Linked DNA regions of Homo sapiens: region 2 is linked to region 1. The links are contacts of gene promoters, found by promoter capture Hi-C in human tissues and cell types (Jung and others, 2019). All regions are on one chromosome and are shown on one strand. The core of a region is centred on a gene start or on the middle of the fragment in contact, and the rest is flanking DNA. Distances in the headings are between cores, read along the strand shown. Region 1 has its middle 21 kb from the start of EIF4B. Region 2 holds the start of KRT1 (keratin 1).

The links. Contacts are between HindIII fragments. The study calls those that stand out against the background at their distance.
Region 2: a contact is called between the fragment with the promoter of KRT1 here and a fragment that was not itself captured in region 1, in 3 of the 25 tissues and cell types used here (aorta, mesendoderm cells and pancreas).

What each region holds. Positions count from the first base shown.
Region 1 is chr12:52,983,785-52,987,714 of GRCh38, reverse strand. No RefSeq gene overlaps it. Among named protein-coding and RNA genes, the nearest start is that of EIF4B, 21 kb to the left of the region's middle. The HindIII fragment of the contact is 7,503 bases long and covers 1-3,930 here.
Region 2 is chr12:52,678,814-52,682,843 of GRCh38, reverse strand. It overlaps KRT1 (keratin 1), which reads left to right and starts at 2,437. Exons shown (of 9, transcript NM_006121.4): 1 at 2,437-3,086. The coding sequence starts at 2,496. The HindIII fragment of the contact is 20,482 bases long and covers 1-4,030 here.

The DNA of each region.
Region 1 (3,930 bases), core at 919-3,418:
CTTTCTTTTTTTTTTTTTTTTTTTTTTTCCTGAGATGGAGTCTCACTCTGTCACCCAGACTGGAGTGTAGGGGCACGATCTCGGCTCACTACAACCTCCGCCTCCCGGGTTCAAGCAACTCTCCTGCTTCAGCCTCCCAAGTAGCTGGGATTACAGGCATCTGCCACCATGCCCAGCTAATTTTTTTTTTTTTTTTTAATTTGAGACAGAGTCTTGCTCTGTCGCCCAGGCTAGAGTGCAGTGGTGCAATCTTGGCTCACTGCACCCTCTGCCTGCTGGGTTCAAGCGATTCTCCTGCCTCAGCCTCCTGAGTAAGTGGGGTTACAGCTGTGCATCTCCACGCCCAGCTAATTTTTGTATTTTTAGTAGAGATGGGGTTTCACCATGTTGGCCAGGCTGGTCTTGAACTCCTGACCTCAGGTGATCCACCCGCCTCAGCCTCCCAAAATGCTGGGATTATAGGCATGAGCCACTGCACCTGGCCTACCATCAGTTTTTTTTTTTTTTAAACTTACAGAGCTATAAGAGTCTAGTCAAAAGCAGTCAAAAATTATATTGAGCACATTGATTATATTCTTGGTATATCCAAAAATAAGAAGTTGAAGGGGCTGGGTGCAGTGGCTCATGCCTGTAATCCTAGTACTTTGGGAGGCCAAGGTGAGCAGATCACCTGAGGTCAGGAGTTCGAGACCAGCCTGGCCAACATGGTGAAACCCTGTCTCTACTAAAAATACAAAAATTAGCCAGGCATGGTGATGGGCGCCTGTAATCCCAGCTACTTGGGAGGCTGAGGCAGGAGAATCTCTTGAACCTGGGAGGTGGAGGTTGCAGTGAGCCTAGACCACGCCATTGCACTGCAGCCTGGGTAACAAGAGTAAAACTCCGTCTGAAAAAGAAAAAAGAAAAAAAAAAAAGAAGTTGAAGGACAATTGAGTCTTTGAAACAAACTATTTTTATAAAATGAGAAAGAAACAACAAAAAAACACAAAGACACAGACCACTACAAAATCAAATAACACTGAAAGTTCTCTATACAAAGCCCAGCATTCCACTAAAAAGGTACCCAGTAATCTTTAGCTCATTTTAAGATCTTTTAAAATTTTTCCAGCAAAGACTTGGTCTTAGCATTCTTTTGTATTTTGCCATCTAGCACAATATTTAGGTATTAGGTATGTTAGGTATTCAATAAGTACAGGCTGCTTGATTGGAGAATTATTGAATGATGGATTAGAAAGTGTGTGATGGATTGAAAAGCATGACCAAAATATTTTGCAGTGCCTTCATCAAAAGGTAGAGTCTATTTCCTACTTTTTGAATTTGGCATTGCCTTGTGACTTGCTTTGGCTAACAAATGTGTCAGAAGTGACAATATGTGACTTCTGGAGCCTAGACTTTGGAAGATTTTGTGACTTCCACTTTTACTCTCTTGGAACCTGCTGATACCAGGCAAGGAACCCAGGCTATTCTGCTGGAGAGCCACAGGCAGGAGAAGTGAGGTGCTTTGGCTGAGAATCCCAGCTAACTGCCAGTTATGTGAGTGAGGCCATCATAGACCATCCTGATCCATATGACTGTAGCCACTTAAGCAACTCAAAGTGAGATGAACAGAACTGCTCAGCTGAGCCCAGCTAAAATTGCAGAGTTGTGAGCTAATTATTGTTTTAAGCCTCTAAGTCTTGGAGTGGTTTTTTATGTAGTAATAGCTAAATTGACATAGTGCTGTCTGTGCAGTCACAGAATGTCAGCTGGAGGCAGAAGACAAGTGTTTCTTCTTTGGAGAGATACACTGTCTACCACGATTGAATTTTCTGCCTCGGCTGTCCTGTGTCCCAAATGGGTTGGGAGCCCTGTGCTGCTCCCTGAAAGAAGTGTCATTACTTGAGTATGTGGCTTGGCCCCAAACCTTCTAGGTGGTTGTGCAGCCAATTTGATGGGCTTATTACCTGTACTGGGCTTGAAGCTTGTAGAGAAATGGAAGTCAACCCTCTTCCAAAGAAGAGAGGCAGAAGGCCAGTCACGGTGGTTCACACCTGTAATCCCAGCACTTTGGGAGGCCGAGGCGGGTGGATTACCTGAGGTCAGGAGTTCGAGACCAGCCTGGCCAACATGGTGAAACCCTGTCTATACTAAAAATATAAAATTAGCCGGGCATGGTGGTGCATGCCTGTAATCCCAGCTACTTGGGAGGCTGAGGCAGGGAATTGCTTGAACCTGGGAGGCGAGGTTGCAGTAAGCTGAGATCGTACCATTGCACTCCAGCTTGGGCAACAAGAGCGAAACCCCGATACACACACAAAAAAGAAGAGAGGCAGAAGGCCGGGCACAGTGGTTCACACCTGTAGTCCCAGTGCTTTTGGAGGCCAAGGCAGGAGTATGGTTTGAACTCAGGAATTTGAGACCAGCCATAGTGAGATCCCAATCTCTACAGAAACCAACCAACGAACAAAAACAAATTAGCTAGGCATGGTGGCATGTGCCTGTGGTCCCGGTGCTTTGGGAGGCCAAGGGGGAGGATCCCTTGAGCCCAGGAGTTTGAGACCAGCCTGGGAAATATGGTGAGATTCCATGTCTACAAAAAATAAAAAATTAGTTTGGTGTGGTGGTGCACACCTGTAGTCTCAGCTACTCAGGAGGCTGAGGTGGGAGGATCATTTGGCCCTGGGATGTCAAGTGTGCAGTGAGTGGTGACTGTGCCACTGCACTACAGCAAGGGTGACAGAGCGAGACCCTGTCTAAAAAAAGAAAGAAAGGCACTGGGCGCGGTGGCTCACGCCTGTAATCCCAGCACTTTGGGAGACTGAGGCGGGTGGATCACGAGGTCAGGAGATTGAGACCACCCTGGCTAACACGGTAAAACCCCCGTCTCTACTAAAAATACAAAAAATAGCTGGGTGTGGTGGCACGTGCCTACAGTCCCAGCTACTTGGGAGGCTGAGGCAGGAGAATCACTTGAACCCAGGAGGTGGAGGTTGCAGTGAGCTGAGGTCGCGCCACTGCACTCCACCCTGGGTGACAGAGCAAGACTCTGTCTCAAAAAAAAAAAAAAAAAAAAAAGAAGAAAGGCAGTGAACAAGCAACACTTTTCAAGGAACTGAACAAGGACGCATGTGCTCAAGTTAAAGTATCTGTAAAGTATCTGAACATGGACACGTGTGCTCCAAGGAAAGTACAAAGTTAACCCTATACTAAATATCTGTCCTCACCCCTCCTTGAATCTGTATGACATCTTTACTCTCCAATCATCTTTCTACTTGGCTTGTTTAAATCTCAATATAGCCTAGTGAGAAAGAAAGGCAAGTGAGGAAATCAAGAGATTTGCTCAACATCACACAGCAGCTTAATCATGGTGCAGATCCCAGGCCTCCTGCTGTAGCACCCAGTGGCCCAGTGCTGACTACTGCCCCTAGCAGGTTCCATGGGCAACTCCTGCCCTCTGAGGACTCTCAGTCCAGGATGCATACCCAGGATGTATGTGTGAAGCAGGATGATGTTAGGGTGGCAATGCAGTGTCAAGGACAAGATCTGATATCATCTCTGTTAGCTCCATCAGGCCCGTGATCTCAGGACAGCCACTCAACCTCTCTAAGCCTCAGTTTCCTCATTTGTAAAATTAGGTTAAAATGATATCCACCTATACGTTGAAAAACTGTAAATAATGGTTGCCTCTGGAGTGGGTTGTGGGGCTGGGTGCTGGGTAGGAGGAAGACTTTCTTTTCATTGTATATCTTTATACTGCTCAATTTTATAATCATAGGGCAGATATTATTAATTCACTGATAATACTAATTAAAATACAAAAACTGCTGGTGCGATGGCTCATGCCTGTATTCCCAGCACTTTGGGGGGCCAAGGCGGGCAGAATACCTGAGGTTGGGAGTTCAAGACCAGCCTGCTCAACATGGTGAAACCCCGTCTCTACTAAAAATACAA
Region 2 (4,030 bases), core at 1,188-3,687, 310 kb after region 1:
TATGGCACTTATTCCTGCTAGTCCTGCATTTCTCCCTTCTCACAGGAGCACCTGGGGTATGTTTTGCAGCTAAGTTGTCTACCAATTCCCTGACCATTCATTCAAACCTTTGATTTTTCTGTATGTCAGTTTCTTAGTTCAAAGATGGGAGTGTGGATCACTGCCAAGGTCTGTTTTTGGCTGGCACACACATGCACACAAACATGTGTGCACACAAACATGTGTGCACACACATACTCACACCCCTCCAAAATGCTAGAAGGAATCGATTGTGCAGAACAATATGTCTCATGAGGGAGTATGCTGAACTAAAATAATTTTGATTGCTTGTCAGAAAATGATTAGGCAACAGTCATTACCATGCCAAGACTGTCCCAGTCTCCATTGTTCCTAACAAGACCTGAATTACTCATTCCCTAAAGAGATGGTTGGTTTAGCAGCCGAAGGATTTTAGTGCTAGGACAGAGTCCCAGACAGCAGTGCCACAGTGATGGCGAGGGAGAGGAGTAGCAGGGGAGCGGTGAGGGGCACTTTCTGGAGGAGGGTATAGGGCAAAAACTGGGAGGAGAAGAGGGACAAGGTTCAATAGCGGAGTGCAATGGAGAGGACCGACACAGCCAGCCCGATTCAGAGCCACAGAGTAATGGGACCAGATGATCTTCACAGACTCCCTTTCTCCCATAGATCTTGCACACCATAGTGGAGACTTCCCATGTACATCTATGGTTTGCCACTTACAGAGTTACTTGGAGCCAGCTGAAGTTAGAGCTGGCTTCTCCCCTTTGAGTCTTCAATTCTGTGTTTATGTGCAGGCCCGGGGACCATGCCAGGCTTCTAAGAAGTCTTCGAATGAAAGTCTGCTTGGGCTTCTAGTGTGTCCAGATCTCAGTGCCACTATTATCCACTGATATTGATCAAGTGCTGCTCTCCAGGAAGACCCCTGAGGTTTCCTGGTCCATTGCAATGCATGCTGGGTACTCTTGCACTTGGATGGAAGTAAAATCTCCTCACTAAACTCTGTGCCACCAAAATCTCCTTCTCAGTGTGAATTGAAGAAACATTTTCCAAGACTTGCATGTGCCAGGAGCCAAGGACTCAGAGTGATAAAACAGGCCTTCTGCCCTCAGAGCTCTCTGTGGTGGGGCGCTTCCTGTGCTGTCTGGCTTTACACACAGCAGGCAGAATGACTTGAATTCGGCTGCTGTGCTGTCGTACAACATGCTGTTTAGGATCTTGCACATGATAGCTAGGTATTCTTGCTTCAAATCGCAGGCACCCCACTTACCAACTGTGTAGACTTGATCACGTTATTCAACCCCTGTGTCTCTGCTTCCTCATTTTACAAATGGGGAGAAAAATAGCATCTATCTCAAAGTTGTGAAAATTAAGCAAGTTAATACATATGTGCTACGTAGAACAGTGCCTGGTACATGGTCAGTTTTTGATACATGTTAGGTATTATCATTATTATCACCTCCAGAAACAATTTAAACTTCTCATATAAGGCTCTCCAGACACCTCTCATTGTCTTCCCTTCCAAATCTGCATTTATCTCTCTCTCTTTGCAGTCCAGTGTGAGGCTTGAATCACCTATCAAGCCTCACCTCCACCCCTGTGCTTTACAAAATGTCCTAGAGCTTCTATTTACTCGTCTCACTGCTCTGTGGGCTTTTTCACTCAAGGGCGTTTGCATGCTATCCATTGCTACCTGTTTTCTATTGCTGGTGTCTGTCTCCTGCTCTATCTTTGAAGAAAAGAAACAAGAAAAGGAATAACTGAGAAACAGAGAAAAAAAATGTCTCTCCCTTCTGGTTCTTCCAGACCACCCACTCATCCATCTTGTTCAATGACAGCTTCTCTTCCTTTAATTAATCACTGTGGTATATTTATAAAGCTTATATTTATGAAAGACCTTTTAATTTTTTAGTTATTAAAGCCCTTTCTCTTTGTCAGGTTGTAACTGAGTGAGCTCTGGAGTTTGGAAAGAAGATCTTAGAAATGGGCCAGAGAGCTCCTTCTGAGATCCAAGCACGGGGAATTGCACCTGCTGTGCATGGTAAGAGAGTGTGCTTGGTAGCTCACAAAGGCAAGGTGAGAATAGAAACTTTCATGCCTTTTTGATGGGGGTTATGAAATCCTACCAAGAAACACCAGGTATCAGATGTGGGGTCCTGTTTTCCCAAAGCCACAAATGCTTGAAGGAAGATCTTGTGTGATAAAATAATTACCACATGAACCAATCTTGCATGCACAGCAATTTTGAGAGCCCATCCTGGGAGCTAGGTGTGTAGTGTTTATCGTATTGTTGAGGCTCGTAAAAATCTTGTATGGCTGCAGGCAAGCCAAACCCTTGACAGGCACTGCATCTCCGCTGACTCTAGAAGACCAAGCCCAATTTCTTCCCTGTATATAAGGGGAAGTCTCTATGCTTGGGGTAGAGGAGTGTTTAGCTCCTTCCCTTACTCTACCTTGCTCCTACTTTTCTCTAAGTCAACATGAGTCGACAGTTTAGTTCCAGGTCTGGGTACCGAAGTGGAGGGGGCTTCAGCTCTGGCTCTGCTGGGATCATCAACTACCAGCGCAGGACCACCAGCAGCTCCACACGCCGCAGTGGAGGAGGTGGTGGGAGATTTTCAAGCTGTGGTGGTGGTGGTGGTAGCTTTGGTGCTGGTGGTGGATTTGGAAGTCGGAGTCTTGTTAACCTTGGTGGCAGTAAAAGCATCTCCATAAGTGTGGCTAGAGGAGGTGGACGTGGTAGTGGCTTTGGTGGTGGTTATGGTGGTGGTGGCTTTGGTGGTGGTGGCTTTGGTGGTGGTGGCTTTGGTGGAGGTGGCATTGGGGGTGGTGGCTTTGGTGGTTTTGGCAGTGGTGGTGGTGGTTTTGGTGGAGGTGGCTTTGGGGGTGGTGGATATGGGGGTGGTTATGGTCCTGTCTGCCCTCCTGGTGGCATACAAGAAGTCACTATCAACCAGAGCCTTCTTCAGCCCCTCAATGTGGAGATTGACCCTGAGATCCAAAAGGTGAAGTCTCGAGAAAGGGAGCAAATCAAGTCACTCAACAACCAATTTGCCTCCTTCATTGACAAGGTGAGTTTCTCTCTCATTGCACTGGTAGGGCTGCCGCTGGTCCACTTGGGATTGGTGCAGTCAAAACACAGTAGGTTTGAACCTCAAGTTTCCATGTTTACATGATTAAAAGGATGTTTTGTGGAATGGTCTCCTAGGAGATATGTTAGATGTATGCTTGTGAATGGTGTTAATGACTCTCTCTTTGACAAAGGGTTCGTGGTCGACCTAAAGGTGGGTCAGTGTGACATTAACATTTAAGTGCTTTTTATTCAGCTCTTGAGCGGAATTGGGACTCATATCTGTTGAATGAAGATAATAGAAATGGGGCTAACTGAACTTTCCAGGGTGCAAGTGAGAACCCTGGAAAGGTCTTCCTAACCATAGAAAGGGAGTTGAGTGTGAACATAGTATAGAGTGTTATTGTAGCAGAAAACATGTGGTCAGTCAGTGCCAAACATCTTTTGCTGTCAGAGGGGAGCTCTGCCTTCTAATAATTTTACATTGGTACTGGATGAGGCTAGAGTTTTTTTATACTAATATCTCCAAAAATCAGCTCTAAAAAACTCAGATAAACCATTTTTTTAATTTTTTGCTTAATCATTAATAGTGCCAATCCAAGGTTATCCACAACAAATTTCAAATCCAATTTTGAATTTTCCTGATATACTTTTGAAATGTGTGTGTGTCCTGGGGATGCAAACCAGTTTTTATGGTAATATACCTAACAAAATTTTGGAAGGCAAATCTCTTAAATACCATGCACCTATTTCAAAACATAATTGCAATAATTCTGTATGCGCTTTGCTATTGGTATTTGTTTAGTTACTCCCTTCCAAGCCCTCTCTGAATTAACAAGTTGGGTTTTATTATGCAGATGATATTAACTTGATCATCTTCTTCCTATTTCTCTGTCATGGTCAGAAGATAGGAATTGAGGTTCTTTTCCAAATGAGGCACAGTTC